Regions from separate parts of the Homo sapiens genome. Here region 2 is linked to region 1. Evidence: promoter capture Hi-C in 16 types of primary human blood cells and fetal thymus (Javierre and others, 2016). All regions are on one chromosome and are shown on one strand. The core of a region is centred on a gene start or on the middle of the fragment in contact, and the rest is flanking DNA. Distances in the headings are between cores, read along the strand shown. Region 1 holds the start of ARMC8 (armadillo repeat containing 8). Region 2 holds the start of NCK1 (NCK adaptor protein 1).

Region 1 (6,518 bases), core at 2,871-5,370:
GTACTATCTTTGCAACTTCCTGTGAATCTATAATTATTTCAAAATAAATGTTTTTAAAAATGCAATCAACATAATTCAAAAGTATAGAAAACATTGCAGAAATTTATGAATTTGTTGAAAAGGGTGATGTTGTAATGTTAAATGCAAACCAAAGAGGGATGGGGTGGTCATAGTGCAGTCTAGAAACAGGGCTGGAGAGTTTGTCCAACCCTCCAAAATAGATAGTTCAATCAAACATTTACTGAGTACCTAGGATTTGCAAGACAAAGTGTTACTTCTGAATTAATTTACTCTCTAATACGACAAGATAGAGTATTATTAAAGACCTCTGCAAAAGCAGTTCCCTTTGCCTTGTATGCTCTTCTTCTGTCACTTTTTCTAGTTAGTTCTTACTTATCCTTGAACTTTCAGCTCAGCATCACTTCTTCAGGGAAACCTTCCCTAGTTCTTCCTATTGCCCTCCATATTAGATCAGTTTCCTCTATGACATGTTTTGAACAGCACCCTATATACTTCATTCATAATACTAATCACCATTCACAAACTGTGTGATTATTTGATATCTATTTTTCCCACTAGGCTAACATTTCCAAAAGGACAGAGGTCTGTGTAGCTTACGGCTGTATTCCCAAACTCAACACCATGCTTGCCTAGCAAATGGCAGAAGCTCAAAGTAGATGTACAGAATATATATATACAAAGTTAAAATTCATATGTACAAATGAGTAAGAAGAATAAGATTTACTGGAGTTTGGAAGAATTCTGTATCACTCTAACCTGAGAAAGCCGGTTTATACAGGATAGCAGGTTCATGTAGAAGATAAAGAATCTCGGCCGGGTGCAGTGGCTCACACCTGTAATCCCAGCACTTTGGGAGGCCAAGGTGGGTGGATCACTTGAGGTCAGGAGTTTGAGACCAGCCTGGCCAACATGGTGAGACTCTGTCTCTACTAAAAATACAAAAAAATTAGCCAGGCATGGTAGTGGATGCCTGTAATCCCAGCTACTCAGGAGACTGAGGCAGGAGAATCGCTTGAACCCCGGAGGCGGTGGTTGCAGTGAGTCGAGATTGCGCCACTGCACTCCAGTCTGGGCAACAAGAGCAAAACTCCATCTCAAAAAAAAAAAAAAAAAAAAAAGATAAGAAAATAAAGAATCTCAACTCTGAAGCTGAATATAAACTTGGGCCTTTGGGCAAAACAAATTCAATCAAGAAAAGAAACCGAGGAGCGGCTGTAGGAAGAGTTCTTTAGGAAAATTTAAGTAGACATGGACTTGCACTGAGAGTGTAAGACATTAAAGACAGTAAAAATAATTAAAAGGACGCTGTGGTAGTGCAGGCACAAAACAACAAAGTCCTGAATGAGGGTGGTCATGGGAAGAGAAAGATATAAGAAACACTAAGAATAAAGAAGCAACAGAGCTTAACAACTGGTAGATACAGGGGGATGAAAGGAGGAAGAATCAGAGATTATTCAGGAGGTTTAACAGTTACTTATCAGTGAAAGATAACACCATTAACAGAAATTGGGAACTCATAACTAATTCCCCTTAGGAGAAGGAATGTGCTTTATTGGAAGCGATGGGTGTCATCCACACAATTTAAGATGTAAGACTAGATGTAGAAGAAAGTCAAGGTTGGCAATGCAGATGTGTGAACTGATCAGTTAAGGGTACAGGAAAATCAATGAGATTTCCCAAGGAGAAGGTATAAAGAGACTCAAATGGAAATCCTTTAAAACAACTTGAATGCCTCCTTGCTGAAATTATGTTTATCAAATTATAGCGTCACCCAGACTATGAGCTCCTGAAACGCATTTCTGATCTCATCCTTGCATTCTCTAACGTATACAATACAGAGCTTGTACGTAACTGGTACATTGTAGCTTATTAAAGGAATCAACCATTCAAGATAATTTCTGATGAATGTTTCCTGTTCTAGTTTGCATTTCAAAACATGGTGCTCTGGGTAGTACTTTGAAAGGTACAGGTTTCACTTTAAATTAGTAAAATCAGTGAATTGAAACATTTTAAATCATTTATCCAAAAGCTCCTACTTCCCCAAGGCTCTAGGAGTGAAGATCTGATAGACCAGACTTTGGGACTACGGAAATCCTTTTTTTTTAATTAAAGAAAAAAAAAAGCCCCTAATGAGACTAGGGCTAAAGGCAAATCCTAAATAGAAGTATTAATAGAAAATACTCTTCAAGAAGTTTTTGAATAAAATAAGCAGAAAATATTATTTACCAAGGAAGTGAAACAAATGAAAACTTTCAATCATATGCATTATACAAGTTGACAACATCCAAAAAGTAAACTTCAGGTGAACTGAAGGATAAATGAAATCTAAATGAATAATTAAAGGAGAACTGAGAACAGCCAAGACACATACTATTTTTTTTTAACATAATGAGGTAAAAGTCATTGGCCTGCACTCCCACAGAATATTCCTGGGTATTACAGTCAGTGATGGAGTAACAGGCTAATCTGATCTAATACTTAGGTAAACAGTATTTCCTTAGTTGCAGTTTAAAAATAAGAAAAAATGACTGCTAAAATGGATCAGGGGAAAAATCTGTTGACAGCCTCACAAAATTATTATTGTATTGACAACTTAAGCCTTTTCAAGGTTGAGGTCTGCCACACTGCTCTAACCCTGAATCATAAGCAAATGTCCTAGGTGTTTTCAGATAGGTGAGTTTGTTTGTGGGACAAGTCAGAGAAGAGAAAAGAAACCGGTTGTAGTTACAAGACTCTAGGAACCCGACAAGTCATTTATAATCCAACTACCCTCTCAGTATCAGACTGGCTTCCACAAGTCTAAAAGATGGTCAATCAGTATTTGCCTGCTTGTTTCCAACAATAGCAAATGAACCATTGGTAAACTGACCATTCTCAGAGTCGGACAGCTCGAATTTGTTGCAAAATCCTTCGAAGTTATCTCCCAGTAACTTTCATTCCTGGTCCTGGTTCAAGAGCAACATAGTGAAAGGTGAAAGTCGTCTTTTTCTTTAAAAAAACTTTTTTTAAAAAAAAAAAAAACAGGTTTTACTTCCTGGCATGTCAATACGTTCCCTTCTTTCAACAATGGGGAAATAAATCTCACCCCCTTTTCCCCCCTTCAATGTTTGACTCCCCTTAAAGAAAAACGGAATACCAGGCACAGGGAACATAGAGTTCCTCTGACTCAGAGCCGCGACCTCTGAGCAGAGCGGAGGAAAGGGGCTTAAAAAACCACACACACTAGGAAGAGTTGCAGCTGATACGAATCACCATTGCCAAAAAGCAAACTGCTTCAGCCGGTGCCCAGGTGCTGGGACGCGATAGAAGCCGCACAGACTTGGCCTGGCAGCTCTGAGGAAATGGGGGCCAAGGAGCCTGCACCTCTTCTTGCCAAAGCCCGGGAGAGCTGAGTGGGCGCTCGTTCTCAGGCCGGCTGCAAGCCCGGCGCTTCACAAGGCAGAGCGTTCGGCCCCCGGGAAGCGGCATCGCTAAAAGGAAGGCTCAGTGAAACGCTTGGCAAAGTCCAAGCCGCGCCGCCCAGCCAGTTGTCTATAAGCCCAGCCACCCCGCCTGCCAGACGCCATCCTGGGAACCCGCACCGGCGGGAGCTCCCGGAGTTGGAAACGTCTTTGGCTCGGCCGCGGTCCCCTCTGCCCGTCTATCCCGCCTCTCCACCCTCGCTCACTCCCTGGCCCGAGACTGAGCCGGGGTCCACCCCAGGGGGTGGTGCCCAGGAGGCACACCACGCTTGGGGGAATGGTGGAGACCGGGATGAGGCTTCCTGGAGGGCGGGCGGGCGGCCGCGGCGGGTCACTCACCGAAAGGACGCTCATGCGGATTGGGGTCTCCAACAAGCACGCCATCTTGAGCCTTCCCACCCGGCTGCTGCAGGCGCCGGCGCGGGGGCCGGCACTTTCGACAGCCAACTATTGGCCAACGCTAGGCACCGCTCCCTAAAGGCAGCCAGATAGACGAGAACTGGCCACGCTCTGGACACCGCTCAAGTACCGGAAAGGCCCGCAGAAAGAAGGGCAAAAGGGAATGGCGTCAGGGGCTGTCCTACGAATCGTTCTCTCAGAAACAGCAGCTACTCTGAGCCTGGGTTAGAGGTGGAAGCGGGCAGCGGTTTCCGCATGCGCAAAGAAGATCTGCCGGCCCCACCTGCCGCTCGCGGTGGGCGGGGCCCCAGAGGCGGAGTCTCGCCCTGACGCTACGAGTTTTACGGACTGATAAATTGCAGTTTATGGATTCCAGTATTCATATTTGGAAAAAGTAGTACGTGGAGCCACATACATAGTTTGAAGTTCACTTTCATATTCATTCTCTCTCTCTGCACCAAACTCCCGGCGTCGTTATCTCCATTTTATAGGTGGGGAAATTGCGATCCCAGAACCTTTGCCAACCGTAAGAGTGATTGTTTCACGATCCGATACAGATACGTGACTTGCCTTAGCGTTGTGTGCCGGCCCCGTTTATTCTGGTGTAGTGTTAAGAATAGCCAGAATGCTTGGGTTTCTTCCTAGCTACTTGATTTATCAGCTGCTTTACCCTGGGCAAGTTATCTAACCTTCTGTTTGAGTTTCCTCATCTATAAAATAAAGGTTAATGAGGATAGAGGAGTCAACAAACGTGAAGCTCTCAGAAAAAACCTAGAACATAGAAAGCGTTATACAATATGTGTTAACATTTCTCCAGCTTCTGAGTTAAGTGGGGAAAATGGGGGCAAATATCTAAATATTTCGCACTAAAACACTCTCATAACCGAAGCTAAATAAAAGTATGCTTTCAATTATACTTGATTAATTCAGCTGTCCTACTACTTTGTGTGTGTGTGTGTGTGTGTGTGCAACACTGCCCTTGACTTGGTTGGATAAGTTTCACCTTCGTACTGCTTGCAACCAGTAAGGTTTTCACAGTATGGTTGCAATTGGCCTGTTAACATTACTTGTATTCCTTCCATTTCTATAGCCACACCCTAATTCAGGCTCTTGTAACCTCTCCCCTGGACTACAGCAATAGCCTTCCAACTGGTCTTGTAGCTGGTAGCCTCTCCCGCACTCTGCTCCTCACTGTTTTCCTGTCTTCCTCCTGTACTTGGTTTCCAAATTTAGTGTAGCATTTACCACCCCTGCTTATGGGTCTGTGTTCCTTAACAAACTGTTGAATTCCTGGAAGGCAGGAATTTTATTTTAGGTAGTCCTTCTGCTATAATACTATTTCTGAAACTTGGGTAATCTGTACACCACCTACACAATCTTTGCCAATCTGCACCTAGGTATTATTATTCATTCAATATTTTTATTTAAAGCCAATTTCAACTCATTAAAAATTTTTGGCTTTATCCTAAACCATAATACTCTGTGAAATCAAGTTTGTTGTGCTCCTTATTTTTATTCTAGTACACATTAACTACAAAAAGTTTAAATGTCCATCCATGGACCACCTAAAATCACATCATGTACTGCATACTGCAATGGGGCAGAACATAACCCTAATACATAGTATATAGAGTCATTATAACTGTATTTGATCCACACTCCATCCATTAGCTCAAGCAATACATCCTCCAGGAATTGTCTCCCCCAGGCATGGGTTAGATACCCTTTCCCCCATGCCTTCATACTTCACTTTAATTGTAGGGTGGTTTTGTTGTTGTTAATTGTTTCCGTGTTTGTCTCACTATACACTTCAAGACAGGCACTGGGAGTTTTATCTTCTAGGTTGTCTATCTCAGTGCCTAGCACAGTCACTTAGTAAATGTTTGTTGTACGAATTTTTGGCTTAGTTTGAGCCTGGGACGAAGATTTGGGTGCATTTTGTTTATTTAGTAAGTGCTTTCAGGGAACAAAATTGATAGGTCAGGGAGAGTGAAAAAAGAAAGAATAAATATTCAAGATAATTGTCCATTATTGATGCCACTGTTTATTCCTCAATCACCTCTGAAAACATACAGAATACCTCTCTGGATTGTCCATCTTGAAGCTACAGCATTCATCCACCAATACCATATGTATTGGTTGAGGATTTCCCTAGGGCTATTAACTCCCTGCCCTCCTGGATTATATTTGTGCCCAGAACAGAACGGGCTTCTTTAACCTGATACAAAAAAGCAGAGTCTGCAGGTTTCATCTTAGGGTGGGATATAGGCAGCATAAATCTGAGCTTGCACAGAACTGTCACTGCTGCTGTGGCTGAAATCCGAGCGGGGAGGAGCTAGAAATGTGACTCAAGACATCTCACACCTCTGTCTGTTACCCAGGCTTTCCTGTTTTATATCCAGAAGACTGACATAGACATTTTACAGGAAGAAAGCATTGAATAGCCAACTCCTAAGCTTGGAGATCAGGAATCTTGCTCCCAGTTCAAATTTTGCTGATAAATAACTTTAGGTACACTCTTAAGTAATGAGTAGAAATTGGAAGATAAAAGGAATTTTTGATTCAGCCTGCATGTGACGATAACAAAACAGTTAAGCATGGGCGCGGTGGCTCACACCTGTAATCACAACACTTTGG
Region 2 (6,518 bases), core at 1,107-3,606, 1.3 Mb after region 1:
CCGCCTGGTCTCCCTCAGTATCTAACAAAACATTACACATAGGTTTTTTTTGTTTCTGTTTTTTTTTTGTGTGTGTGTGACGGAATCTTGCTCTGTTGCCAGGCTGGAGTGCAGTGGCGATCTTGGCTCACTGCAACCTCCGACTCCCGGGTTCATGCAATTCTCCTGCCTCAGACTCCCGAGTAGCTGGGATTACAGGTGCGTGCCACCACGCCCGGATAATTTTTGTATTTTCAGTAGAGACGCGGTTTCACCGTGTTGGCCAGGCTGGTCTCGATCTCCTGACCTCGTGATCCGCCTGCCTCGGCCTCCCAAAGTGCTGGGATTACAGGCGTGAGCCACCGAGCCCGGCCAACATTACACGTAGGTTTCAAATTTTATTTAGATGGACCTGAAAGCACTGCAGAAACCTGGACAAAGGATAATGCCTAGAAAAATAAATACACATTTTATTTATTTTTTTGAGACGGAGTCTCGCTCTGTCGCCCAGGCTGGAGTGCAGTGGCGCGATCTCGGCTCACTGCAAGCTCCGCCTCCCGGGTTCACGCCATTCTCCTGCCTCAGCCTCCCGAGTAGCTGGGACTATAGGCGCCCGCCACCACGCCCGGCTACTTTTTTGTATTTTTAGTAGAGACGGGGTTTCACCGTGTCTGCTAGGGTGGTTTCAATCTCCTGACCTCGTGATCCGCCCGCCTCAGCCTCCCAAAGTGCTGGGATTACAGGTTTGAGCTACCCCGCCTGGACTCCCTCAGTATCGAACAAAACATTACACGTAGGTTTCAAATTTTATTTAGATGGACCTGAAAGCACTGTCAAAACCTGGACAAAAGATAATGCCTAGAAAAATAAGTACACATTTTAAAATTTAATACATGAGCCAACAGCTGAGTAGATGTGAACACTCTGCAAACTATGTTTATGGATATTACAGCCAATTTCCACAGATCACAATTTTCCCAAAGAAGTCTCAGAGTTTGTGGTCAAGATGAAAAGAAAGCACCATTTATCAACCAGTGCATATTACTATCAAGTTGTGAATGGGATGCCTATTTAAGAATATCACAGACTCCACCCCCCACAAGAAAATTAAGTGTTTTAAAAAGAAAAGAACGAATATTATTGACAATTACCAAACAAAACTTTCTTCTTAGGTTATTTCTCCGTTTACTGTGTGACCTCGCCGAAGGCTGAGAGTCTAGGCACACTGGTTTCCAGGTGCTGAAGAAATCGTTATAGTTGGTTTGTCATACGTCTATCAAAGTAAAATTTTAAAAATGAGTACCTTTTGGCAACACCCGTTTTGGGAGGACATTGAGCTGCTTTGCTCCCTACCCAAAGAGGAGTTAGGAAATTCTCTTTAACCTAATTCTTTCCTAATTTCTAGGGCTTCTTACCTAATCTAACGTGCATAATTATTTTCAGGTGACTCCGGGTCCATCAGTTTGACACCGAGAGCGTTCCTACGGTTACGTCCTCACCCCTGAACAAAACCCAGCTTCCTGAGCTTCTAACGGCGAATTTAACTTGTATGTTAATACAGAAGAAAGGTTACAAAACCTATCGAAATGGTTTTTTGTTTTACCAAACATATTACAACTCAAGTCAAAAGTTCACAGCCCCAGCAACTCGCGTACGAATCTGAAGCAGGTCCAGACCATTAAAGTCACAGCCCCAGACTAGAAAACGGCCGGTGGGTGGGGGGAGGGGAGAGGGCGCGTCCCGAAGATGTCCACCCGCAGCACCGCGCAGGCTGACGCCTCCCCTCCTCTCGGGCTGGAGGTGAGAGCGCCCTTCCTCCTACCACGTCCCTACCTTCCCGGCCTCGGATTACGCCACAGCTGGCAAAAGGACTTTTTCATGAGAAAACAGACAAGTCAACCAGCGCGCCGCACACTCGACCTCCCAGGCTCGCACGGGCGGCCGCCCGGGCTCTCAGCCCGACACAGCGCTCCAGGGGCTGACAAGGAGGCCGCGGGGTCACGCTCCCTGGGGCAACGGCCCGAGGGTCTCGCGGAATCCCGGTGCAGAAGTCTGGACCCTCCGAGCAGCCTCCGCGCCCCCTCCGGCTCGGCTCCGAGCCTGCAGACGGCGCCCCCGGGGCTAACTCAGCGCGAGAAGAGGAAGCGACGCAGCGAGTAACAGGCTGTATGGACGGACAGCGGACTGAAGGGGGGTGTGTGTGTGTCTGCCTGCCAACAAGGCCGTCTCACCTTCCCGCTGCCGAGCCGGGCAGCTCCAGCTCACCTGAGGAGGGCTCCAGGACGCCACTGCGGCCGCCGTGATGGCCGTAACGGCACGAGGCCTGCGCTCCGCCGCCGCCGCGTAGCTCTTGGGAGAGAGGCGGGGCACGCGCGGTGGGCAGGCGGATCCGCGCGGGCAGGAAACCCACTCTGGACCCAATCTGATAGGTTCAGTCGCCCCCTTCCCCGGTCCCTGACGCGACAACGGTCTCTGCCGCACTGGGATTGGGCGGGCCCTCATGTCAATCAAGCGCCGTGCCTGATGTGGAGGGAGCGGAGGCTGCGCGGCGGAGAGTAGAGAGCTAGAGGGTGAGAAGCGCTGGGCCGGACCAGAACTGTCTTAGCTTTTCCCTCTGCGGCTGCTCTGGTTGGTTACTTTGAGCCTGCCTCCTCAGCGCCGCAGGAGAGACTTAACAGCAAAAATGACTGTGTCCTGAGTTCAGCCCCCACTGCTCTGGGAGCTTCCCCCTGGTTTCTGCACCTGAAGAATGTCATCCCAGCCGAAGGTTCTTAGGAGCGGGGAGCGACAAAGAAAAACAAAGAAAAGCAGACCTGAAAATTGGGACCTGGGAGAAATGTAAGACATGTGCTTAATTTGAGGCACAGACCAAAAGAAGCTGAGTCTGAGGGCCCTCTAAAAGTGTCCTCGTGCTTGGGCAGCTTACATTCTTGGCGGCAGTAGTGTTATGAAGAGGACCTTCGGAGCCAGGTCTGTCCATTCTTAGGGCTCCAGCCACTGGCTGAGGCATCAGTAAGTTGGTTCTTCCCCTCGCCGGTGCTGCAGGCCCCCTTCCCCGCCCCCGCGCCGTAACCTGCCTCTTTTTTTTTTTTTTTTGAAACGAGTTTCGCTCTGTCGCCAGGGTGGAGTGCAGTGGCACGATCTCGGCTCACTGCAACCTCCGCCTCCGGGTTCAAGCTATTCTCCTGCCTCAGCCTCCCGAGTAGCTGGGATTACAGGCATGTACCACCACGCCCAGCTAATGTTTTTGTATTTTTAGCAGTGACGGGGTTTCACCAGGATGGTCTCGATCTCTTGACCTCGTGATTCGCCAGCCTCGGCCTCCCAAAGTGCTGGGATTACAGGCGTGAGCCACCACGCCCAGCCGCCTCATCTCTTCTTAACCATCTTTGTGGCACAGTTTAGGATCGCTCCTCAGGGAAGCTTGCTCAGTTAGGTACCTTCCTTGGAGCACAGGTGTTTTCTCCATCCGAGCTATTGAAATGGTTTGCCTGTATGTCTACCTAGATTGTAAACTCCGTTGAATCAGTAACCATGTCTGTTCAGTTTCTCCCTAGGGCCTTGCAGTAGGGTAGATGGTCAGTAAATACTGTTTAAGGCATTAATACTTTTTATTTTAATCCTGGCCCTGGATATCAGCCTCAAAAGTTTGCAGTTTTCTGCATTTAACTTCAAAATTATTTACGTGATTGGTAATGCATGCATGTGGTTGGCCTGTGCTGTAATTTAGATGTTTGTTCCCCTAAACCTCCTGTTGAAATTTGATCCCCAATGTTGGAGGTGGGGACTAATGGGCAGTGTTGGGTCATGGAGGTGGTTCCTTCAGGAATAGATTAATGTCCTCCCTGGGGAGAGGGTAAATGAGTTCTCTTTATTTCCACCAGAGCTGGTTAAAAAGAACGTCGCACTTCCTTTCTTCTTTTGCGTCCTCTCTGGCCATGTAATCTCTGCACACACCAGCTCTCCTTTGCCTTCTGGCATGAGTAGAAGCAGTCTTAGGCTACCATCAGATGCAGATGCTCAGTCTTGAACTTTTCCAGACATCAGAACCATAAGCCGAAAAACCTTTTCTATTTCTAAATTATCCAGCTTTGGGTATTCCTTTCTAGCAACACTAAAGGGACTAAGACAGCCTGCCATATGTAGGATCACAAGGTCAAGCACAAATTTACCTATTTATGCTGTACTATCCTCAGGTTGACTGGGACAAGTAGACCATGAAACTGGGCAACAGCTACTCTATGTCTACATTCTGTTATTAGCATCCAAAGTGAATAATGGCGGTGAATTTTGAGTTTATTCTAAGGGTTTAAATAACTGCATATTTTATCATGACTGGTATGGACTGAATTGCATCCCCCCCAAAAATTCATACTGAAGCCCTCACTCCTAATGTGACTATATAAATGTTCCTTAACTTACAAAGGGGTTATGTTCCAATAAACCCACCATAAACTGAAAATACCTTAAGTTGAAAAGATCTTAAGTCAGAAATGCATTTAATGCTTCTAACCTACCAAACATCATAGCTTAGAGTAGCCTACCTAAAACATGCTCAGAATACTTACATTAGCTTTCAGTTAGGCAAAATCATCTAATACAAAGCTTATTTTTTAATAAAGTATTGAGTATTTCATGTAATCTACTAAATACTGAATGAAAAACTGGATGGTTTTATGGGTACTCAAAGTACAGATTCTAGAGTGCATATGGCTTTTGGACCATCATAAAGTCAAAAAAATCTTAAGTCAGGGACCATCTCTAGTTGGAGCTAGGCCTTTAGGGAGGTAATAAAAATTAAATTAGGTCATAAGGGTGGGGCCCTAATCCCATAAGATTAATGTCTTTATAGAAAGTGGCACCAGAGAGCTCTCTCCATTTGAGAACACAGCAAGCAGACAGACATCTGCAAGCCAGAGAGAGAGCCCTCACCCAAAACTGACCATGCTGGCACCCTCTTTTGGACCTCCCAACCTACATAACTTTGAAAAAATAAACTTCTGTTGTGTAAGCCACCCAATCTAGTATTTTATTATGGCAGCCCAAGCTAATACAATGGTTTTATTTGTTGATACATTTTATAAAGTTTACAGACTGAGATATTATATTCATTTTTGAAGAAACTTGTCCAGAGTTAAAACTGTTGCTGCAAAATCACCCATCAAACTGTTAGCACAGCGTGACTCAATTTTAATTCTAATTACATATTTAACATACGATGGAGGCAGAAGGTGTGAATATAAATACAACAGGTAAAATACAGAAATACAGTTCTTGCCTTCATGTAGCTTACCACCACCTTAAGTGGGGAAAATTAACCCAGCAAAAAGTATGCTGAAGTCATACATTTAGGGTTTTTGTTTGTTTGTTTGTTTTTTGAGATGGAGTCTCGCTTTTTTGCCCAGGTTGGAGTGCAGTGGCACCACCTCAGCTTATTGCAACCTCCACCTCCCGGGTTCAAGCAATTCTCCTGCCTCAGCCTCCCAAGTTGCTGGGACTACAGGCACACACCACCACACCTGGCTAATTTTTTGTATTTTTAGTAGAGACGGGGTTTCACAATGTTGGCCAGGCTTGTCTCAAACCCCTGACCTCAGGTGATCCACCCACCTCAGCCTCCCAAAGTGTTGGGATTACAGGCGTGAGCCACAGCACCCAGCTAGTTTATCCTCTTAATTTTCCTTCTTTAATCTTTCTCATCACTCATTCTTAACAGGAACTCTTTAAAAAAATTTAAGAAACCTCCAAAAATATATGCAAAAGAGGAGTCAAAGAAGAAAAATAAGCAAACAGCAATGAAAAAGGAAAGCATAGACTGGAAGGGCAGATAGGCAGAAAGGCATGTATGTAATTGCACTTAGAAGGGATGCAGTACATGTTTTAATGGGGTGGGAGCTGTCCCAGAGACTTCCTTTCACACAGTCTGTCTCCCCAGCTTCCAAATATAAACATGCACATGGCTGCTGCTTCCTCTCTTTCAGGGGAACTCAAACCAAAAACAGGAATCATCCTTGCTAATTAGTGCTGAGTGGATCAGGGACTAACCAGAATCAGGCAACAAGAAAATGTAAGTCAAAACTTATGATCAGCCCTGGCAACAGAGCTAGACCCTGTCTCTACAAAACAAAATTTTTTTTAATCAGCTGGGCATAGTGGCATGTGCCTGTAGTCCCAGCCACTCTGGAGGCTGAGGTGGGAGGATGGCTTGAGCCCAGGAATTTGAGGCTGCAATGAGCTATGATCACACCACATCTCAAAACAAAAACAAAACTTATCTAGGGACTACACGTGGAGCTTTGGATATGGGCAGCTAATCTGTCTATGATTAAAAACACGCAGGTGGCTTACTTTATTAATCCAAAATAAAAGAATTTGGGAACACAAGAAAGGGAAAAATGAGCCTCCATGTCAAGACCTTTCCCAGAAACCTGATAGCTTATAGTTAGAAATTGTTATAGACAGTCCAGTGCAAGGAGGACATTAAGCCACAGGGGAAAGGAGTTGTGTGGCCAGGTTAGTCAGGCAATTAACTAGAAAAA

The links. Contacts are between HindIII fragments. The CHiCAGO score rates a contact against its expected background, and 5 or more counts as called.
Region 2: a contact is called between the fragment with the promoter of NCK1 here and the fragment with the promoter of ARMC8 in region 1, in 1 of 17 cell types (naive CD8 T cells). The highest score is 6.1, in naive CD8 T cells.

Annotation. Positions count from the first base shown.
Region 1 is chr3:138,184,903-138,191,420 of GRCh38, reverse strand. It overlaps ARMC8 (armadillo repeat containing 8), which reads right to left and starts at 4,120. Exons shown (of 22, transcript NM_001363941.2): 1 at 3,822-4,120. The coding sequence starts at 3,866. The HindIII fragment of the contact is 21,816 bases long and covers 1-6,339 here.
Region 2 is chr3:136,858,046-136,864,563 of GRCh38, reverse strand. NCK1 (NCK adaptor protein 1) reads right to left here and starts at 2,356. Exons shown (of 4, transcript NM_001291999.2): 1 at 2,211-2,356. It overlaps NCK1-DT (NCK1 divergent transcript), which reads left to right and starts at 2,501. Exons shown (of 3, transcript NR_110177.1): 1 at 2,501-2,817. RefSeq lists enhancers at 1,488-1,607, 1,618-1,697, 2,758-2,817, 3,378-3,427 and a silencer at 2,338-2,397. The HindIII fragment of the contact is 9,923 bases long and covers 1-3,404 here.